Linked DNA regions of Homo sapiens: regions 1, 2, 3, 5, 6 and 7 are each linked to region 4. The links are contacts of gene promoters, found by promoter capture Hi-C in blood cells and fetal thymus (Javierre and others, 2016). All regions are on one chromosome and are shown on one strand. Each heading gives the region's core, a stretch centred on a gene start or on the middle of the fragment in contact. The rest is flanking DNA. Distances are from core to core; before and after follow the strand shown. Region 1 holds the start of NEURL4 (neuralized E3 ubiquitin protein ligase 4). Region 2 holds the start of TMEM256 (transmembrane protein 256). Region 3 holds the start of SPEM1 (spermatid maturation 1). Region 4 holds the start of ALOXE3 (arachidonate epidermal lipoxygenase 3). Region 5 holds the start of SPDYE4 (speedy/RINGO cell cycle regulator family member E4). Region 6 holds the start of EIF5A (eukaryotic translation initiation factor 5A). Region 7 holds the start of DVL2 (dishevelled segment polarity protein 2).

Region 1 (2,843 bases), core at 100-2,599, 790 kb after region 4:
GCCCGGAACCAAGGACCACTATCCCCCCGGAGGGACAGCTTGAACCAGTACTATGAGTTACGGAGCCCCCTGAGTGCACGTGGGGCCCAGAACCGTGAAACAAGACTACTCTGGAGGGCTGCCCAGCGCCTGCCTCGACTCCTGTGACCGCTGCGGGCACTCCTCTGGCTGCCCCTCCAGGGGAATCCCGGTTGAGGCCGCCAGCAGCCCCTAGGGACTCCACCTTCTCCATGGCCCCACTGGGGGGCTGCTCTCAGCGATCCTGACCCGCCTCCCGGCTCCACGTAGCCCCGCCCCTGGCCCCGCCCCCACCGCTGCCGGCCGGGGATGCTCGGGCTCAGTCCCGGGTCCACTTCTCCCCTGCTCCAGAGCTGCGGCGGGCGGAATCAAGACTATATAGAGACTCGGGCTGGGGGTCCCTCCGCTCGCCCCTTTCCTTTGTGTCCCACCCAAAGATTTTCTTTGTCTGGGCAATTTGTTCCCGCCCTTCTCCATCACCACCCTCATCCAAACCAGCCAATCCCAGTCAGGGGGCCAGGCCAGGAGCTTCGACTGTGACCTCACGGTCCTCCAGCCTGAGCTTGAGCTTCGGGGAGTTGGGCAGGGGGCTTGTTAATAGCTCTAAGGGAGATCTTTTGGGGTCATCAACGCTGTCGCTTGAAACGGCCTGTCGGGACTTCTTTAGACTCTTTGTGGTCTTAACATGGAATAGTTTGGTTGAGTTGGAGTTGAAGCTGGGCTTGACTTGAACTATCAGCGAGCTTCCCCCACCCCCGCCAGTCGGCTAGCTCAGCCAATCAGAAGAGGTGTGAGGCAAAGTGGAAGGACTGCCGCACTGTTGCAAGACACTTCGTCCTCAGTCGGGTGGCGGGAAGAGACTTTCACTACCGCTTCTCTGGGTCCTCCAGACTCGGCTCACGCTGCTTTGGAGCCTGCATCCCGAGGGGAGACACCCCCTCTTGCCGTAAAGCGAGTGCTTCAAGGTGTCACCGCCCCCTAGCGAGGGCGGGGTCGTCGGTGCCGCTGTCGCAAAGCAGAAAGTGTTTGGGCTCCAGCACCCCACCGTCGTAAAGATGCCTGCGGTGGGCGTGTCTTTCTCCCACTGTCGCAAAAGCTCCCTGCCCAGGTCTTCGTCCCCCTCGGAGCCGCTCCGTCACCTCGCTATGCCGTAAAGCGAGGCTCCCGACCCCGTGTCCTTCTGTTCTCATCGTGGTCGTCCCCAGCTCCTAGCGCGGGCTGCTTCATTGCCCGGCAGTGCCGTAAAGCATACCTGGCCTCAGCCCCCCGGTCGTATCCCTCGGACTGTCTGCCCGACGCGGTTGCCACGGTGCCGCCAAGCGCGGCTGTCGCGCTGCCCCGGTGTCAGCGGAGATGGCGGCAGGGTCGGGTGGGAGTGGGGGCTCTGGGGGAGGCCCTGGACCGGGGCCGGGCGGGGGTGGGGGCCCCAGCGGGAGCGGCTCAGGACCGGGGTCCAACGGGGGTCTGGGCAGCGGCGGGGAACTGCACCCGCGCACTGGGCGCTTGGTGAGCCTGTCGGCCTGTGGGCGTACGGCGCGGCGGCAGCAGCCGGGCCAGGAGTTTAACCACGGGCTGGTGTTGAGCCGAGAACCCTTGCGCGATGGACGCGTCTTCACCGTCCGCATCGACCGCAAGGTGCAGCGCTGGTACCGCGGAACAGAGATGTGGAGGGTGGTGGGAGGCGTCTAGAGGGAGACGGGGTAGGACAGCCAGGGTAGCCCACATTGCCGGGCACCGAGAGGGAACAGAAAGACCATAGAGCACCAGGGGGCGGTCAGGAAGACAGCATGAAGCAGAAACATTGAGTTTGAAGATGACATTAAGAGCTTGAGTTTTCTCAAGATCCAGAACCAGGGAAGGGACACGAGGGCTAACCCACTAGAATGGCTGGGAACAGACCTCCTGGTACAATTTCTTGGGCATGGAGGATGGAGAGATGTCAGAGATGTGATGGCAAGTGAAGAAAGATGCCAAGGAACGAACAAACGTAATCCCAGCACTTTGGGAGTCCGAGGCGGGCGGATCACTAGAGTCAGGGGTTTGAGACCAGCCTGGTGAACGTGGTGAAACCCCGTCTTTACTAAAAATACAAAAATTGGCCAGGCATGGTGGCGTGCGCCTGTAATCCCAGCTACTCTGGAGGCTGAGGCAGGAGAATGGCTTGAACCCGGGAGGCAGAGGTTGCAGTGAGCTGAGATCATGCCATTGCACTCCAGCCTGGGCAATAGAGTGAGTGAGACTCCGTCTCAAAAAAACAGAACAAACCATTGAAGGACAGAGGCTGTGCCAGAAAGATAGGTGAGGAGAAAGATCCAGGGTGAGGGAGGTGTGTGTGATTCAGTGAAGAGGCCAGGCTCACAGAAAAAGAACTTGGAAGGAGATTGAATCTGGGTAGAGCCTGATCTTTGGAGAGAATTAGGCCAGGGGAAAGGAATGAATGATACACAAGAGCAAGAGGTGTGGGTATAGGAAGTAGGAGAATTTGGATGGTTGGAGAGCCATAGAGACAAGGAAAGTTAGAGGAGGCAGGAGGTTGGAACCAAGGAATTTGTGCTTGGCTTGGAAAGGAGTGGTTTAGTAAACACTGAGTAGAGAGCAGAGTTGCTAAAGGAAAGCCCAAATAATTACCAAGACGGAGTCCAGAAAATCACTGTCTGCATCTCTGGATTAGTGTTCCAAGAGACAGAAAGCCAGCTAGCTGTCTGAGAGGTGGGAAGATATGGTGGCCTGTGGAATGGGGGGTGGCCCATTCTAAGCCTCTGTCCAATACCCCTATCCCAGGTCAACTCCTGGAGCGGCTCCATTGAGATTGGGGTGACAGCGCT
Region 2 (2,784 bases), core at 175-2,674, 710 kb after region 4:
CCGCGGCCCCGCAGGCCCAGCCCCCGCCCGCAGCGCCTCACCCGGCGGGGGAGGGGGATCGCCCCAGCCCCGGGGGGCGGGGCCGGGATCCAGTCGATCCCCGGGAAAAGGAGAGCTAGGGGATGGGATCAGGGGGAGCCCGAGAACAGGGAACCCCGCAGTAGGGACGATAGAGAAAGGAGGGGGCAACGGGACAGGACTAGATTGAGGATCCGCTGGTTCCGTGGGCCGGCTTCGAGGGACCAGAAGGCGGTCCAGGCGGAGGATCCTAAGGATCGGGTGCTGGAGGAGGAGTCCACGTTAATCCCCAGGGGCCCGGGGCCCGGGAGCGCAGGATCCGCGGTGCAGGGGCAGGGATCCAGCCGGAATCCTCGGGGAGGGGGAGGGATCTAGTCGATCCCGAGGGCGGGCGTGAGGGGGAGGTCCGGGGAGTCAGAGGAGGGCGGGAGCCGAGTCCAGAGCCCCGGGGCGGGGGTCAGCGCGGATCCTAGGAGGGAAGGCGGGGGTGAGGGGAGGCTTCGAGGGACGCTCAGCAGCCGGGAGGCCCGGACTCCTGGCTCCGCGCGCCAGGGCCGGCCCGCCCCGCGTCCATCCCAGCCCGAGAGTGATGATCCGCCGGCGGAGCAGCCGCAGCAGCCCCGCGCGTCACCGCGCGGCCGCCTCCCCCGCCCCCTGCCGAGAGAGCGGCGCACACCCCCCGCTCGCACCCCCCGCTCGCACCCGCCTGCCCGCCCGCCCTCCGGAGAATGGGGGGATTGGAGATGGTGGGAAGAGGCGGGAGCGGACAGACGGACAGATGGACGTAGCGGGCCAGGGCAGGGTGGAGACATTCCCCCGGATCTCCCACCCTCGGGGCTCTCGCGGTCTCGGAGGGCTGGCGGGGGGGAGAATATCTTAACTACAGGGGGCGGGGCATCATACAAAGAAGGCGGAGCCTTCAGACATGGGGGAGGGGCCATTTGTGCAGTGGGCGGGGTTTACTGGCAATAGGTGGGGCTTTGCTATCTTTCGGGCCGCCTCTTTTTGGTAGTGGGTTTGATTTGAAGCTGAACAGGAGGAGCCTGTGGAAAAAGGGGCGGAACTTTGAGAGAAGACCGGGATCTTTGGAAATTGGCCGGAGCATGGGGGTGGGGGGTTCGAAGAGGCGATCAACTTGGAAAGTGGGCCAATCCTTGACGCAAATCCCCCTAGTCCCGCCCTCAACCCCGCCCCCCCACTGCTTAGCTCCTCTGTTCCTAATTGGTGCTGGTTTCTCCGCCCGCCAGACGTCTTCGCCACTCTGCAGCGGTTTTACAAAGGCGGGTGAAGAGCGCAATGCTGAAATGAACACGGCCCGGATTGGGCGCCTGTGAACCTTATTTGCATGGGCGGTCGGGATTGGCTGGCCTCTTGGGTGGCCTGGGCGGCGTTGGTCCGGTGCGTCCTGTTCTACAGCTATGGCCGGGCCAGCTGCAGCTTTCCGCCGCTTGGGCGCCTTGTCCGGAGCTGCGGCCTTAGGCTTCGCTTCCTACGGGGCGCACGGTCAGGGGGCTGGGGACGAAGATGGGACTGTACTTGGGGCGTCCTCTGGGGTCTGCTGCAAGGGCGTAACCTATGGGAGGTGCCCGGCCTCTCGTTTATCAGACAGTCCGCGGAGCCCTAAACCTTTTAAAGTCCCCCAGCTGGGTCCAATTGGTTCCCAGTACTGCCCGAGCGTGTTCCCACCAATCGGAAGCTTCCTGGGGCGGGGGGGGGGGTGCCCTTTCTCGCCAATGTCCACCTGGGTCCCCCCGGATTGGGGGCGGTCAGGGCTGGCACTAGGACCGCTAACCTTTGCTTCTTTTCTCCACAGGCGCCCAATTCCCAGATGCCTACGGGAAGGAGGTGAAGTAACTGCGCTGGGGCTCCCTGACTCGTGGGTCTACGAAGGCACAAAGTCTGGGGTCCCTGGGGGAAGTGGGCGGGGAGAGGGTGGGGCGAGCCGCGGATCTCTGGAGCAGCAAAGGCCAAAGGCTCTGTAAGCCAAAGGCCTGGGATCAAGCTGGGACTTCAAGGGTGGGGTGGGGGAAGGAACTTTGGTCCCTTGTGTCATCAGGGGATCTCAGTACCTGTATTGCCTACGACATCCCTTCGTTTCTGTTTTTCTTACAGCTGTTTGACAAGGCCAACAAACACCACTTCTTACACAGCCTGGCCCTGTTAGGGGTGCCCCATTGCAGAAAGCCACTCTGGGTAATCTTTCCCTGCGCCTAACCCTGACCAAGCCCCACACACTCCCTCTCAGCCTGCCCTGTTCTTAACAATCCTGTTTTCTGTGCTGTGTCTCCTTCAGGCTGGGTTATTGCTAGCTTCCGGAACGACCTTATTCTGCACCAGCTTTTACTACCAGGCTCTGAGTGGAGACCCCAGCATCCAGACTTTGGCCCCTGCGGGAGGGACCCTGCTACTCTTGGGCTGGCTTGCCTTGGCTCTTTGAGCTCCCTTTTGCTTAATTACTGGGTTTTCTGGGCAGTTTTTTTTTTAAAGAGTTGGAGTAAGAAGAGGATTAAAAAGGAAAGGCAAATAAACTTTGGAGTCTTTGTTCATCTAACCTCTTGGAGGACGAAGGGTGGGGATTCAACCTCTGAACTCCCTCCATTTCCTAAGACTTAATCAGTGAGCCTTAGGTCTGGGGATTCTGGTCACTTTAAGTTAACTTATTATAATGTTCTTACCCTGGTGGGCATCAAAGTCATAAAGAATGCTTGAAATAACACAGATTCCTACTGAAGCACTCTTTCGGGCCTGAGAATCTGTATTTTAATA
Region 3 (2,700 bases), core at 21-2,520, 700 kb after region 4:
TAGGGAACGGTACACCCAATTCTTGCTTGTCTCCTCGGCAGTGCTGGATCCAGAGGCTAGGGGGTAGCAGCCGGACAGGGCCTCCACCTCCCGGGTCAGTTCCCGAAGCCGCCGTCTCATGTCCCGGGCATCATACACTATTCGGCCTGAGGAGCGGTGCCGGGAAAATTCAGGGATGACTGCTGGGCCCAGGGTGGGAGCTGGGACAGGCTGGTACTGAGCCGCCTCTGCCTCTGGCACCGCCCCCTCCCCACCGTTCTTGTGGCTAGGAGCCTCAGGGCTGGGAGGTGGGGGGTTCACAGGATACACATAGGCCCTTAGGCCCAGCTCGGACCATATGCCTGTTTTGAGGGGCCTTTCCTCTACGGTAGGCTGGAAGCGGATGGTCTGGGGAGGGGACTCTGGGGCATCCTGAGACCAGGGAACCCAGGTCCCCTGAGTGTGTTGGAAGCCTTCCCAGTCCTCAGGGACATCCCAGTGGTAGGAGCAGATGGCTGGGTACTGATGAGGCTTCTCGTCATCAGTGTCAGGAGCCCAAGCTACTGGGCAGTGAGCACAGCGTGTGGGAGAGCCTCGACGGCGATGGCGGTGAGCTGGGGGCGGGGACACAGTCATCATCACAGGGTCCATGGTGCACCGAAGATGGACTGCAGGAGAACTCTGCTTCTTAGGGGGCTGGGTCTGCTTTCTGAGTAATGATGACTTGGGAGCTTCTGTGGATGGGGGAGAGGTGAGACTAGTGGGGAGGCCAGCTCCTACAGGCATGGAGAGGCAGGGCCCAGGAAGGGCAGCCACACAGCTATGTTGTCTGAGAGGGGCGAGCAAGAAGGGAAGGGGCTAATTTAGGGCTGAGGCTAGAGCACTTGGTTTCTGCCCCTCCTATGTCCCAGCCCCCAGACCTCTTACCTTTCTCACAAATGGTATCATGGAACACTTGGTATAAGACACCACGGAATCGGCTCCAGAGCTAGGTGGGGGAAGACACAGTGATCCCAGGTAGGCCCTGGCCGGCAGGCCTGCCCCCCACTATCCCACCAGCTCCCTCCCATCTGGCCCCACCCTGACCAGGGTCACTATATTGATGCTAATGTTAATGCAGATGATGAGGCCCAGCAGCAACAGGACAGAGTTGCCCAGGTCCTGGCAGCTGTTGCTGTTGCAGTTGTGATACGAGGCCCACTCGGGCCTCGGCCGCTCAACCATGGCCATGGGGTCCCTAGGACCACCGGGGCCCTTACGCCCCCAGCCCACCGTGCCGACAGTGTCCACTGACTGCCTGCCTGTCCCTGAGGGTCTTGGGAGTGAACGGGTCACAATGGTGCCAGGCCACTCCCTTCCAGTGTGCCAAGGGGCTACCCTGAGTCCTGGACCCGTGGCTGACCCTCTCGCCTGAGTCCAGGCCTTGGCAGAGGCCATGCCTCTCACCTCACATACCTCTGCTGAGCTAGCTGCCTACACCAGCCCACTGGGCCTCTGGCCTGTTTGACATCTGCCCCCATCAGCCTTTGTCCTTCCATTATAGAACGACACCAGGCTCCAGTCTCGGCATAGACACGGGTCCTGACATTCATTTGCCAAACAGACCCATTACCATGGCAACCAGACCCCAGCACACACTCCCCCTTCCTCTCAGACCTCAGAGCTGGTCACTGAAAAGACCCCTCCTCCCTCGTCACTTCCCCAGGGCTTGTTTCTTTAGAGACCGCCCTCCCCACAACAGAGCAGGCACAACCAACAGTTAAACTTTTATATTTACAATATTCTCTTCATCTTTTGCCAGGTTTAAAAATGTGTACAGAGCCGCAAAGGGTTGGGGTAGGGATAAGGGATTGTCGGGATTGTTTTGGGGAGAGGAGCTGGGCATTGGAGTCCGTGGCTGAATCATGGGGTCCCCCAGCCCCCCTCCCATGCCCCAATTCTGAGGGCATCTGTCTACAGGGTTCAGGGCCCAGGTCTCTAGCATTTGGAGGGCATGGCTGTTTGGAGAGGAGCTAGACCAGGCAGGGGAAAGGATCAGAAAATAACTAATTTTCCATGGATGGAGGTAGGAAGAGAAGGGACAGTCAAGAGGCAAAGTTCTGGGGACTCAAGACCAGGGATTCTGGATTTGGGTGTCAGTGGAAGACAGCACCCCAGCCCCTATTCAAGTTTGGCACTAACACCCCACAAAATGCCAGCAGATGAGGACTCTCCCCTCGTCCACTGTGTCCCTTAAGCCCTTCCAGACATCATTCTTTTCCCAAATGCCCAAGCCCAAGGCCCTCCGGGGAGTCACCTCACACATTTCAAATTATTCCTGCTGGTGTCTGCCCAAGCCCTGTCCCCACTGCCCCCTCCATCTGTTCCCCAGCACCGCTGACCTCATTCTCCCAACCTGTCCGGTGAGACCTTTCTCCCCACTGCCTCCCTCCACCATTCAAGGCTCCTTTCTTTCAGACAAGGAGGGGGCGTGGGTCAGAGGAGGGTGGTCAGCTGAGGAGAAGGCTGGTCTGACACTGAGATGGGGACAGCTTCAAAGAGGGGGACGGAGATGAAGGGGAACGGAGAACTGAGGCAGGGTGGGGGAGACATGGTGAGGAGAAGGGGCACAGGCGGGAGCCCCCTCACCTGCCACATCCCTCGCCCTGTATCCTGCTTGCCCTTAGTTTCCCCTGCCCTGCCTGGGACTGGGAAATTCTTGGCACATTTTGGGAGTCTTTC
Region 4 (2,767 bases), core at 251-2,750:
AAATAATTTATTGTACGTTCTCTTAACACTGTGTTATAGGACTCAATTATCCGGTAGGAAAAGCACAAATAATTGGTAGTGTCCTAGTTTACTTTTTTTTTTTGTCGTATTATCTTGGGTCATAGGAGTATCCCCTCTGTGAAAATCAATTAACAATATTCAACATGCTGATATTAAAAGAAAAGCTTCAAGGTTCCACCGAGATTTGAACTCGGATCGCTGGATTCAGAGTCCAGAGTGCTAACCATTACACCATGGAACCTCCCTCGTGGTGTCTTTCAAGATTGTGTACATTACTGGACATTCTATTTTGCGTGTCTTCCACACCCGTCACTTAAAACGAAAACAAAACAAAGTCTGCTGTTGGATATGGTAGACACCGTTATCGAGCACTTGAAATATATGAATTCAGATGTATTGCCAGCTTCTAAATACACATCTTCTTTTGAAGGAAGGCTTTGTACAAACAAAAAGACTTAAAATTTCATTAATATTTTTAGAATGTTGATTATATGTTAAAATAAGATTTTGGTATATTAGGGTAAGTAAAATAGATCCGTGAAATTAATTTCGCTTGCTTTTTATTCTTTGTAATGTGGCTACCAGAAAATGTAAATTCGATAATACGGCTCGCGTTTGTACTGTTTTAAAGTATGTTTATTACCCTCCACCGTCGTTTGCTGTATTTTGTGGAAATCAAGTTTCTGTATCACCTAGCTTTAAAAACTAGTAACTATTTTTGTTACCATTTTATGCGAAGTGCGGTACCCAAAAGCAAAGACATGCCGCCCGAACAGGGACTTGAACCCTGGACCCTCAGATTAAAAGTCTGATGCTCTACCGACTGAGCTATCCGGGCTCTTCACGAGAGCTTTACTTTTTGCTTATAAGAGGGTTCTCTATAGGAAAAGCCAGGCTTGTAGAACCGACAGAGGATTTTATCTGTGCAGCATAGAATATTTTGGCACAGATTTGGAAGCAGCGGGTGAAGCTCGCCTGCTGCTGATTGAGCTTTTTCTGCCTCCCGTTCTTAGAGCCCCCGCCGAGGCTGCGACGCAGGGACTGTACCATAGTAGAGGCTGGAACAGTGCGGCGCCGGAACCGGCCGCGCGGGGCCGCTGCGGGCTATGGGCTTCTCTGAGAGGTTCCTCCCCAGTCCCTAGTGGCCCAGATCCCGGACACCTGGGCTCCCGCCCAGGATCCTGCAGGCCCAGGGCGGTCCTGGAGCGGAAAGAATGCCACGCGGGGCATTCAGACCCTGTTTGCCGGCGCTGTATTTCGCTTTCCTGACCTGCCCTACTCCAGAGCAGAGAATGAGGTCGGGCGTGCCAAAGGCTGGGGACAAAGAGGGCCATGCGTGGGGGGATCGGTGTATGGGGTGACAGGGAGCTGTTCCTGACCATTTGACATGTGCTGGAATGCGTGTGCGACTCACCTGCGTGTGGCTGCAGTCACGTGTGATTTATGACCAAGTGCAACTCTCCACTGTTTAGTGATTCACACGGATGATTCACACGTAGGAATGCAGGTGCCCTGTGCTCATCTCTGCCTGGGAATGGGGAGGAACAGATCTTGGGGGACATTGGGGAGTGGGCGGACAAGCACTCCAGGGCATCAGTCCGGGCCGCTGACCAGGCGGAGGGCAGTGTCCCAATTATACAGGCGTTACCTCCTTTTCTCCATCTCAGCATCTGATCCCTCCCTCCGCAGTGGAACCCAGGCTCCTGATATCCATCTGGGTGAGCCAGCCAGAGGGACCGGCTGTGTCAGAGGCAAGCAAACAAGTATTAGAGTGCAAGACTGTGGGCGGAGAGAGGAAGCCCGAGCCGCCAGCAGGGAGCTTCGGAGAGAGAAAGCCCAGGAACATCCCAGAGAGAGCTGGGCCCATCCTCAGCCCTACCCAGCCCCGCAGCCCCTAGCCCTCCGCCCAGAAACCCAGCCCTGTCCGGCGTGCCGCTCTTCTCCTCCAGGCCGGCTGCTGCTGCGGCCAGCGTTGCCGGGGCATCCCTTCCTCCTTCCCATCATGGCAGTGTACCGCCTGTGTGTGACCACTGGTCCCTACCTGAGGGCCGGCACACTGGACAACATCTCTGTCACACTGGTGGGCACGTGTGGTGAAAGCCCCAAGCAGCGGCTAGATCGAATGGGCAGGGACTTCGCCCCTGGATCGGTGAGTACAAAGGAGACAGGGAAGCGCGACCTCAGAGGGGCAGGGGCCGCAGGCGGGAGGAGTATTCCTCCTGGACTCTTGAGATCCTGCTGAACTCAGGATACCGGCCCTGACCTCCTCACCTTCCCTATTGAGGTCCCTGTCTTTCCTGGAGATGATGAACTCCATCCAGGCAGGACTGTGGAGAGGAAGGAGCGTTGGACAGGGAGTAGAGGGACTTCCCCTGGCTCCTAAACTCCTCCCATAATTGACCGTGGGCTTTGGGCAAGTCGCTTCCCCTCTCTGAGCCTGGGTTTCCTCTTATCGAGGGGATCTGCCTGCCTCTGCCAGCCCCAGGTGGCCTCCACAAGAGTTCCCAGCCGGCCTAGGAAGCTAGTGAAATGCAGTGCCCACTGTGCTCGGGCACCTTTTTCTTTTCTTTTTGAGATGGAGTTTTGCTCTTGTTGCCCAGGCTGGAGGGCAGTGGTGTGATCTCAGGTCACTGCAACCTCCACCTCCCGGGTTTAAGCGATTCTCCTGCCTCAGCCTCCCAAGTAGCTGGGATTACAGGCGCCTGCCACGACGCCCGACTAATTTTTTGTATTTTTAGTAGAGAAG
Region 5 (2,700 bases), core at 66-2,565, 640 kb before region 4:
CTGATGGTTGAAAGCATCGTGAATGCGAAGGTCCACTCAATGTAAGCAGAGTTTCCTAACAATTGGACTTCCACAGCGACGGGATCTGCCTCCTCATTCAGTTGTGCCTTTCCCATCAGCGAGAGACTCCTAGGAGCCCATTAGGAAGCTGTGCCAGAACTCACAGGTTCTTTGGATGGTATCTGAGATAGTATCCAGCTCTTACATTTTTATTTTTTCCGAAAAAAATATTTTTGAGACTGAGTCTCACTCTGTCCTCCAGGCTGGTGTGCAGTGGTGCAATCATAGCTCACTGCAGCCTCAAACACTTGGGCTGAAGCAATCCTCCTGCCTCAGCCTCCCAAGTACTGGGACCACAGGTGTGTGCCACGATTCCTGATTACTTTGTTTATATTTTGTAGAGATGACGTTTTGCTATGTTGCCCAGACTAATCTTGAACTCCTAACCTCAAGTGACGCCCTGCCTTGGCCTCCCAAAGGAGGGAGATTATGAGCAGGAGCCCCTGGGCCTGGCTGAGATTTTCCCCTTAGTCTTTTTATACACAGGATATTTTATTCATAAAATACATAAATAGTAGGCAAATTTTGGGGTCAAGTGAAATAGATATGTTGTAATAGTTGATATATAGACCAGAGTTCCTTAGCTGAACTGGAGGGCAGGCTTTAGGTGATCCATGGATGCCCTGAACTTGTGGACACCATTGAAAATCTGTACGAAACCATGGACAGTCTCCTGTGATTTTCATTCCTCAAAATGTCTCTTGGACTCAAAGATGCCTGAGAGCAAAGGATGCATGTTCCCCTACTATAGGATCCAGGATAGTGAATATCAGTAAACATTCAGCAAAAAAGCTTTGCCACATTGAGTACTTCGACGTAACGTCTCCATTCAACAAGTCAATTTACCCAGGATCTCCTGTATATGTTAATCTCACTCTTGGAAGGACTCATCATTCTGCTTACCCTAAATTTCCTTCCACCTTCCTCCCTCTCTCACCAGACTAGACTCTGAAATGGGAAGGAGAAGCGGGGAGGAGAGCCCAACACCCCCTCAAGTTTAGAGTGGAGAGGACACAGCCTCTGCTGGGACAGGGAAAAGAGGAATGTGGAGACCCTGAGGATGCTTTTGGACAATGCTCAGAGGTTGGGACATTGCCAGGAGATACCGTTCACCCCGGATCTCCAAGAAAAGAGATCAGTCTGGCAGTTACATGTGTTTTTCTTCAAAGTAGTTGCCAGTTTGGAATGACCGATGACATCAGAGATTCCGACTTTCCTGATTGGAAGGACCGGACTCTGGTTGCTTGGGAGTTCAGGTGGACAACAGCAACTTCTCAGAACTACTCTTCACTCCTAACTTCTCCCGAGCCTCTAGAAGAGAAACGCACTCTTCTGGGTCCTAACGGAGTCTGGAAGAAGGCTTTGGACAGAACAGGGACTAGGTTTTGTGGACAGAAACAAAGTGTTTGGGAGAGATTATGGCCAGTGGTCAAGCGCGCCCCCCGTTTGAGGAGGAGAGCCCCCAGCCTAGCACAACGGTACGGTCCCCCGAGGTGGTGGTGGATGATGAAGTGCCAGGACCATCAGGTGAGGTGACTGGAGGGAGAAGCGATGGGAGATGATTGACTGAGGAGAGGGAAGGGGGCCAGTTACTGGGAATCTGAAGCACCTGAGTAGGGTGTGTGGGAAAGAAACGACGGACTCAGGAAGCCAGGGATCGGGGAAGGAGGGTGCAGGGAATGGGGCCAAGCATGGCCACGTGTAAAGAAAGTCTGGGGAGCAATGAAGGGGGTCAGGAGATGTGCTCAAAAGATGAGAGAGGAAGGCCGAGGCGGACGGATCACGAGGTCAGAAGATCGAGACCATCCTGGTTAACACGATGAAACCCTGTCTCTACCAAAAATACAAAAGTGAGTTGGGCATGGTGGTGCGTGCCTGTAGTCCCAGCTACTCAAGAGGCTGAGGCAGGAGAATCATTTGAACCCAGGAGGCGGAGGTTGCAGTGAACCAAGATTGTGCCACTGCACTCCGGTCTGGGCAACAAGAGGGAGACTCCATCTCAAAAAAAAAAAAAAGAGAGAGAGAGAGAGAGAGCAGACAGAGCTCAAGGGAAGGTTTCCATTTTTCTCCAATTGAAAGTTCTTATCTGTGATGAGGAAATGTTTTGAGGACAGAGAGCCGGAAGAATGGGGAGGTGAGGGAGAGGCAGATGGGGATCAGCAAAGGAGAAAGGTGGAAACATGGCTTGGAGAAGCTGACAGTCTGCGAGGCTTGGGAGGATGGAAGAGTAGTTTGAGGTTCCTGGGTCGGGGCGTCTAAGGTGATCAATGGCAGAAACATGACACCATGGCCTGGTTTCTTCACTCAGCCCCTTGGATAGATCCCAGCCCCCAGCCTCAATCCCTTGGCCTGAAAAGGAAGAGCGAATGGTCAGACGAATCCGAGGAGGAGCTGGAGGAGGAGCTGGAGTTGGAGCGCGCCCCTGAGCCCGAGGACACCTGGGTGGTGGAGACGCTGTGTGGGCTCAAGATGAAGCTGAAGCGAAAGCGAGCATCCTCCGTGCTCCCTGAGCACCACGAGGCCTTCAACAGGCTCCTTGGTAGGAGGATACCCCAAAAAGCACCTCCAACCCTGTTCTTTTAAAAAAGTGGAATCTTTCAATAATCACACTTTCCCAATAAGAAGAATATGCCCTCCTGG
Region 6 (2,733 bases), core at 104-2,603, 810 kb after region 4:
TCCCAAAGAGAACCCAGGAACCCAGCCTCTCCTGGAAGGCCCTCCCACTTTTCCCAGGATGCATCTGTCCTGTCGGCTTTTCAGGCCGGGCCAGTACAGTCAGTAGAAAGTGGGAGAGGTGGGGGGTGGTGAATGACAATAAAATGAAAGCAAAAGGTTGGTAGTAGTGAGTAGTAGAAAATCATACTAGGCTAGTAGAGTTAAGGACTTCGAAACCGTGGAACTCCCAAACCAGTTACAACAGGAAGACAGTGACAAGGTGAAGAACGCCTATCACGGTGGGAAACTCATCTGCCTGAGGCTTTTAGGCGCTGTCCACCCAGGCCGACAGAAAAGTTGGGCTCCTGTCCAAACGCCCTGTTTCCCCATTTCTCCGGCCTCCCAGCTCGAAGGGGTGCCACTTACACCTGGCTGACCGCCACACTTCACAGGAGGGTTTTTCAGGAAAGCTCCTGGGGCCCTTGAGGTTGGGAAGCGCTAACATATGCCTGCAGCAGGCCCTCCGGGGTGATTAGGACCCGAGCCTCCGGCTTCCACTCCTCAAAATCTCAGGCCCCCTCGGAACCCCCGCGAGGACTAGCTCCCCGCGCTAGGGGCTGCCGGCTCCTGCCGACCATGTGGCCGTTCCGGGCTTCCGGTGGCCGGGACCTGGGGGGAGGGGTCCCCGCGCTGCCATGCGGCCCCGGTCCACGCTTGGCCATGCGGCCTGCGACCCCGAGGGCAGCCTCCCGTGGGGGGCACTTCCGGTGCCGCGGCCGCCCCCTCCTCAGAGACTGCGCCAGGCCGGAGCCACGCCGCCTCCCCTCCCCCCGGCCGTCCGCCAACCCCCCCCATCATGCCCTCTCACCGAATAGCCCCCTCCCCCACCTCACGTGGCCGCGCTGAGCCGGGTCCTCAACGGCCCAGGTACCCTTGCCCCGGTGGGCCGATCTGGCCCCTGGCCCTCGCCCCGGCGTGGCCGCCTGGCGGCCTCTCCCGCGTGGCTGCCTCGCGGCTCGCCGTCCCCCGCCCTGCGTCGCTCCAACGTCACCGGGCCAACCCCAACCGTCACCCCGCGCGCCAACCGGGGCGCGCGCCCGCGCCTCTCCTCACCTCGCGCCGCTCTCTGGCCGAACCCGTGCGGCGGCGGCCGCCGCTCCCCTCTGCCCCCTCCCCGACCCCCGCGCAGTTCCATCTTCTCCCGGGCCCAAGCCAAGGTACCGCGCACACGCGCCCTGCCCGCTCTCACCTCGCGCGAACGCACTGACTCGACCCCGTCCGCTCGCCGCGAGCCCAACCGCTGCCTCCGAGCCCGCTGCCGCCGCCGCCGCCGCCTCTACCGCCGCCGCCGCTGCTGCACACGGGTCTTAGTACGCAGGCGCCGACTCCCCACTGACCAACCAAGCAGCCCTATGACAGCCGCGCAAGCGTGCTATCTATCTCCTCCGCCCTCCACCCCCGCACTGCGCAAGCGCACACACCCTACCCATCTCCACCCTCCCTCCCACCGACCCGTCCAATGACGCGCATACGTGACCCCGCCCCTCACAAACCCTGAGCGTTTTCAACTAATCTGCAACGCGCAGGCGCACCCGGTTTTTTAATCTCTTCAACCTCATCTTCCCTCCCCTTGATAGACCGCTCGTCCTACCGGGCAGTCCTTGCGCCTGCGCAATAAGGAGCCCTGCACTCCACACCCTCTAAAGGAAACGCCTGGGTCTCAGAACGCATGCGTGTTCGGAATCCTAAACAACCCCTTCCACCTCAGACGCCGTCAGTACGCCAGGCGTTGAAAAGACCACGCCGCTAGATCACTTGTCTCGTCTAGAACGCATGCGTCTCAGGATACGCCCCACCTCGGCTTTAACTGGACTTAAACGACTCACACGTTTCAGAAAACTTGCTCTGTGGGGTGGGCGCCTTGTCTTGGAATCAGTCCCCCCAGTTCCACACATGCGCGGGAGATGTCTTTCCGCCCCACTCTTCTAGCGCGCTAGTGTGGTCGGGTTCCCACCCATCTCGGCTTCACTTCTCTAAATCGAATGCCTATGCTCTGCCATAGAGTTCACCCGAGAAGATAGAGCGGTCCTGCGGCGGACACCATCTTCTTTAAACCCTCAGTCCGTATTGGTCTCTATGGCATCCATAGAGGCCATTCGGCTCTGAGGTCCTCAGTAAAGAAACTTAGATGGTATTACTGTGTTTTCCCCAACTGTGCTCTGCGGTTCCCCAAAGTATTGTCTACGAGGTCCCTTAGAAAAAATTGTCTATAAAAATGAGTGGTGGGCCGGGCGCGGTGGCTGACACCTGTAATCTCAGCACTCTGGGAGGCCGAGGCGGGCGGATCACCTGAGGTCGGGAGTTCGAGACCAGCCTGACCAACATGGAGAAACCCCGTCTCTACTAAAAATACAAAATTAGCCGGGCGTGGCGGCGCATGCCTGTAATCCCAGCTACTCGGGAGGCTGGGACAGGAGAATCGCTTCTCCTGTGGAGGTTGCCGTGAGCCGAGATTGCGCCATTGCACTCCAGCCTGGGTAACAAGAGCGAAACTCAAGTCTCAAAAACATAAATAAATAATACATAAATAAAATAAAATAGTGGTAGGCCGGGAGCGGTGGCTCACGCCTGTAATCCCAGCACTTTGGGAGGCCGAGGCGGGCGGATCACAAGGTCAGGAGTTCAAGACCAGCCTGGCCAACGTAGTGAAACCCCCGTCTCTACTGAAAATACAAAAAAATTAGCCGGGCGTGG
Region 7 (2,789 bases), core at 155-2,654, 880 kb after region 4:
TCGGGCTGGGGCGAGGGGTTTGAGGGTGTTGTGGATCCAACAGCTCAGGCAGAATACCAAACAAACCTTTTTTTCCCCAGGTGATGACTCATGGGATCTGATCACATGTTACTGTCGAAAGCCCTTTGCAGGGCGGCCCATGATTGAGTGCAGCCTGTGTGGGACGTGGATCCACCTCTCCTGTGCTAAGATTAAGAAGACCAACGTCCCCGACTTCTTTTATTGCCAGAAATGCAAGGAACTGAGGCCAGAGGCCCGGCGGTTAGGGGGGCCTCCCAAATCTGGAGAGCCCTGATGGCACCAACTTTAGCCTGGAACTTCCAAATGACAACATGATTTGGGAACTGAGCCTCAGGGTCCTCAGCCTATCCCCTGGAGCTTGGATACTGTCTGCACTTCAAGGCAGGAATTCTCAAGGGAGACTTGTTTGAAAATGAGTGTCTCACTTTCCCACCCTATCCTTCCTCCCCACTCTGTGGACTTGAAATTGAATCCATTACGGTTGGGGATGGGAGGCTGTCTGTGTCCCGACACATAATCTCTGTCTCTTGGACCTGCCACCATCACTTTCTGGGTCAGGATTGGAATTGGGATGGAATGGGACAGTTGTCTATAAAACTCTAGTGTAAATATTAGCACTCCCCTCCCTCATCTTTTCTTCTATTTCACTCCCCATTTATTTTCTTCTACACCGGTTGTATTTTTAATTTTGGACTTCCCCTATTGGGCATGGCAGCTCAAAGGTGGAGTACTAGAGCCTGGCCAAGTGAGGAAGGAAAGCAGAAAGGTGACGATTCTCACTCACCTCTTTTGTTTTTAATAATATCGGCCGCTGTTTGTACAGACAGCCTGCGTGTTGTAAATAAAGCAGAGTGGGCTCTTTTGTGTTTATAGCCCTCACTGTCCTGCTCGGGAGGGAGGCTTTGGTGGCTGAAGACTAGCTGGAGGTGGGGCTGAAACCCACGTCTCAAAGTCCAATCTGAAGATATCACAGCACTGGGCCTTTCCCACCCCAAGACAAGTAAGCCACCTTAGAGCTTTCATTGTATTTGGCCCTCCCCACTCGAGTCTAGGAACCCCCACAGTCCCCACCTTCACTCCCTGCACGCACACTCCTGCGGGTCAGAGTTGCTTCGTGCTCCATCGTGGGTGGGGTAAAGCGGGGTGGGAGCCGATGGTCCGTTTCCTGAAGGCACAGGCCAGCTTAGCCTGGGTGCTCAGAGGACCTCGGCTGGGGTACACGTTTGGGGGCTGGGAGACCGTTGCTGAAGGCAGCGATCATGTGGCGGGGGCACTAGGCGGAGTCAGACGGTCACGTGATTGGGAGGGGATCACGTGACGGAGGGCGGCTGAGGAGCGCGGGGTGGCTGCCTTTAAGTCACGTGACATGAGGAGAGGTGGGCGGGTACCTGGAGGAAGCTCGCGGCGTCGGTGGCGGTGGCGCGCGGCGGCCGCTGAGACCGGGGCTTTGAGTCGCACCCCGCGGCCCGCCCCCCGCCGCCACCCTCGCAGATCCGTGCTTTTTCCCCTTTGCTTCTCTCCCGTACTGGGTCAGTCCTGTCCGCGCTCGCGCGTCGGTTTGCGGGTGTGCGCAGGCGCGGCAGGGGCCATTAGCCCTTTGGGTGGGCGGTGGAGCCCGGGAGCGCGCGGGCGAGACCATGGCGGGTAGCAGCACTGGGGGCGGTGGGGTTGGGGAGACGAAGGTGATTTACCACCTGGATGAGGAAGAGACTCCCTACCTGGTGAAGATCCCTGTCCCCGCCGAGCGCATCACCCTCGGCGATTTCAAGAGCGTCCTGCAGCGGCCCGCGGGCGCCAAGTACTTTTTCAAGTCTATGGATCAGGATTTCGGGTGAGCGCAAGGCCTAGATAGGACCGGCGGGGGCTTTGCTAGAGTGGATTGGGCGACATGGAGGGGCACACGTCTACTTTGGGCCACACTGGGATTTTCTGGCCTATGGTGGAGCAGATTGTACTATGCTGAGGTAGGTTGACTATCCCAGGATGGACAAGGTTATGCTTGGATAGATTGAGGCACACGGACAGACTAGGATATCCTAAACCAGATTAGACAAGATTAGGCTTTACTGGAATAGGTGGGGGCATACTGGTTTATGTTGGAGTATTCTAGTCTGTACTGAGTAAATTGATCCATTGTCTGGTTGTTTAGTACGTTCTCAGGAGTCCTGTAACGCCTGTAATCCCAGCACTTTGGGAGGCTGAGGCGGGCGGATCACGAGGTCAGGAGATCGAGGCCATCCTGGCTAACACGGTGAAACCCCATCTCTACTAACTAAAAATACAAAAAATTAGCCGGGCGTGGGGGCACGCGCCTGTAGTCCCAGCTACTTGGGTGGCTGAAGCAGGGAGAATCTCTTGAACCTGGGAGGCGGAGGTTGCAGTGAGCCGAGATCGCGCCACTGCACTCCAGCCTGGGCGACAGTGCGAGACTCCGTCTCAGAAAAAAAACAAAAAACACTTGGGCCATTATGGACTCTACTGGGTTGTATTGGTTAATCCTGGTTTCTCTTGGGGCAAGACTTGGTTTTATTGGAGCACTCGGTATAGGGGCAGACAAGGCTGTTGGGGCCTGTGCTAGCACAGGCAGCCGTATTGGGATGTTCCAATCTAGACTGGTGCAGACAGCTGCGTGTGGGGGCATTGTAGGCTGTGCTAGAATAGATTGGGCTATCCTAGGGTAATTTGGGACATTCAGGGCTATCTTGGACTAGATTGGCGTGTAAATAATGCAGAGAAAGCCCTTTTGTGTTTATGGTCTTTGGGGCTGA

Evidence for each region. The method cuts DNA at HindIII sites, captures the fragments that hold promoters and counts their contacts. A CHiCAGO score of 5 or more calls a contact.
Region 1: a contact is called between the fragment with the promoter of NEURL4 here and the fragment with the promoter of ALOXE3 in region 4, in 2 of 17 cell types (activated CD4 T cells and non-activated CD4 T cells). The highest score is 8.1, in activated CD4 T cells.
Region 2: a contact is called between the fragment with the promoter of TMEM256 here and the fragment with the promoter of ALOXE3 in region 4, in 1 of 17 cell types (erythroblasts). The highest score is 5.5, in erythroblasts.
Region 3: a contact is called between the fragment with the promoter of SPEM1 here and the fragment with the promoter of ALOXE3 in region 4, in 1 of 17 cell types (naive CD8 T cells). The highest score is 5.1, in naive CD8 T cells.
Region 5: a contact is called between the fragment with the promoter of SPDYE4 here and the fragment with the promoter of ALOXE3 in region 4, in 8 of 17 cell types (neutrophils, M0 macrophages, total B cells and 5 more). The highest score is 19.7, in neutrophils.
Region 6: the fragment with the promoter of EIF5A here is called in contact with the fragment with the promoter of ALOXE3 in region 4 in 1 of 17 cell types (total B cells); the score reaches 6.7 in total B cells.
Region 7: a contact is called between the fragment with the promoter of DVL2 here and the fragment with the promoter of ALOXE3 in region 4, in 6 of 17 cell types (activated CD4 T cells, naive CD8 T cells, total CD4 T cells and 3 more). The highest score is 9.6, in activated CD4 T cells.

Annotation. Positions count from the first base shown.
Region 1 is chr17:7,327,841-7,330,683 of GRCh38, reverse strand. It overlaps NEURL4 (neuralized E3 ubiquitin protein ligase 4), which reads left to right and starts at 1,349. Exons shown (of 29, transcript NM_032442.3): 1 at 1,349-1,653; 2 at 2,800-2,843. The coding sequence starts at 1,372. RefSeq lists enhancers at 1-64, 945-994, 1,025-1,204, 1,140-1,434, 1,417-2,076 and a silencer at 1,405-1,644. The HindIII fragment of the contact is 8,367 bases long and covers 1-2,843 here.
Region 2 is chr17:7,402,737-7,405,520 of GRCh38, reverse strand. TMEM256 (transmembrane protein 256) reads left to right here and starts at 1,424. Exons shown (of 4, transcript NM_152766.5): 1 at 1,424-1,521; 2 at 1,832-1,863; 3 at 2,131-2,211; 4 at 2,312-2,546. The coding sequence starts at 1,437. The coding sequence ends at 2,455. It overlaps TMEM256-PLSCR3 (TMEM256-PLSCR3 readthrough (NMD candidate)), which reads left to right and starts at 1,390. Exons shown (of 10, transcript NR_037719.1): 1 at 1,390-1,521; 2 at 1,832-1,863. It also overlaps a transcript of NLGN2 not described here. RefSeq lists a silencer at 616-945 and an enhancer at 1,436-1,615. The HindIII fragment of the contact is 6,317 bases long and covers 1-1,716 here.
Region 3 is chr17:7,418,894-7,421,593 of GRCh38, reverse strand. It overlaps SPEM1 (spermatid maturation 1), which reads right to left and starts at 1,270. Exons shown (of 3, transcript NM_199339.3): 1 at 1,066-1,270; 2 at 907-967; 3 at 1-713. The coding sequence starts at 1,209. It overlaps NLGN2 (neuroligin 2), which reads right to left. Exons shown (of 7, transcript NM_020795.4): 7 at 1,734-2,700. RefSeq lists an enhancer at 1,267-1,786. The HindIII fragment of the contact is 12,172 bases long and covers 1-2,700 here.
Region 4 is chr17:8,117,247-8,120,013 of GRCh38, reverse strand. It overlaps ALOXE3 (arachidonate epidermal lipoxygenase 3), which reads left to right and starts at 1,500. Exons shown (of 16, transcript NM_021628.3): 1 at 1,500-1,528; 2 at 1,711-2,170. The coding sequence starts at 2,024. TRK-TTT3-5 (tRNA-Lys (anticodon TTT) 3-5) reads right to left here and starts at 859; the gene lies at 787-859. It overlaps TRQ-CTG1-5 (tRNA-Gln (anticodon CTG) 1-5), which reads right to left and starts at 262; the gene lies at 191-262. RefSeq lists silencers at 144-233, 364-413 and enhancers at 934-1,033, 1,184-1,253, 1,334-1,413, 1,135-2,334. The HindIII fragment of the contact is 2,695 bases long and covers 188-2,767 here.
Region 5 is chr17:8,757,161-8,759,860 of GRCh38, reverse strand. SPDYE4 (speedy/RINGO cell cycle regulator family member E4) reads left to right here and starts at 1,315. Exons shown (of 7, transcript NM_001394956.1): 1 at 1,315-1,587; 2 at 2,369-2,599. The coding sequence starts at 1,479. The HindIII fragment of the contact is 1,936 bases long and covers 855-2,700 here.
Region 6 is chr17:7,306,248-7,308,980 of GRCh38, reverse strand. EIF5A (eukaryotic translation initiation factor 5A) reads right to left here and starts at 1,353. Exons shown (of 6, transcript NM_001970.5): 1 at 1,229-1,353. RefSeq lists enhancers at 1-186, 1,417-2,227, 2,057-2,356, 2,228-2,733 and silencers at 657-776, 867-1,036, 1,397-1,506. The HindIII fragment of the contact is 13,725 bases long and covers 1-2,733 here.
Region 7 is chr17:7,233,132-7,235,920 of GRCh38, reverse strand. DVL2 (dishevelled segment polarity protein 2) reads left to right here and starts at 1,404. Exons shown (of 15, transcript NM_004422.3): 1 at 1,404-1,852. The coding sequence starts at 1,659. PHF23 (PHD finger protein 23) reads left to right here. Exons shown (of 5, transcript NM_024297.3): 5 at 81-883. The coding sequence ends at 295. RefSeq lists an enhancer at 1,207-1,256 and a silencer at 1,367-1,666. The HindIII fragment of the contact is 14,867 bases long and covers 1-2,789 here.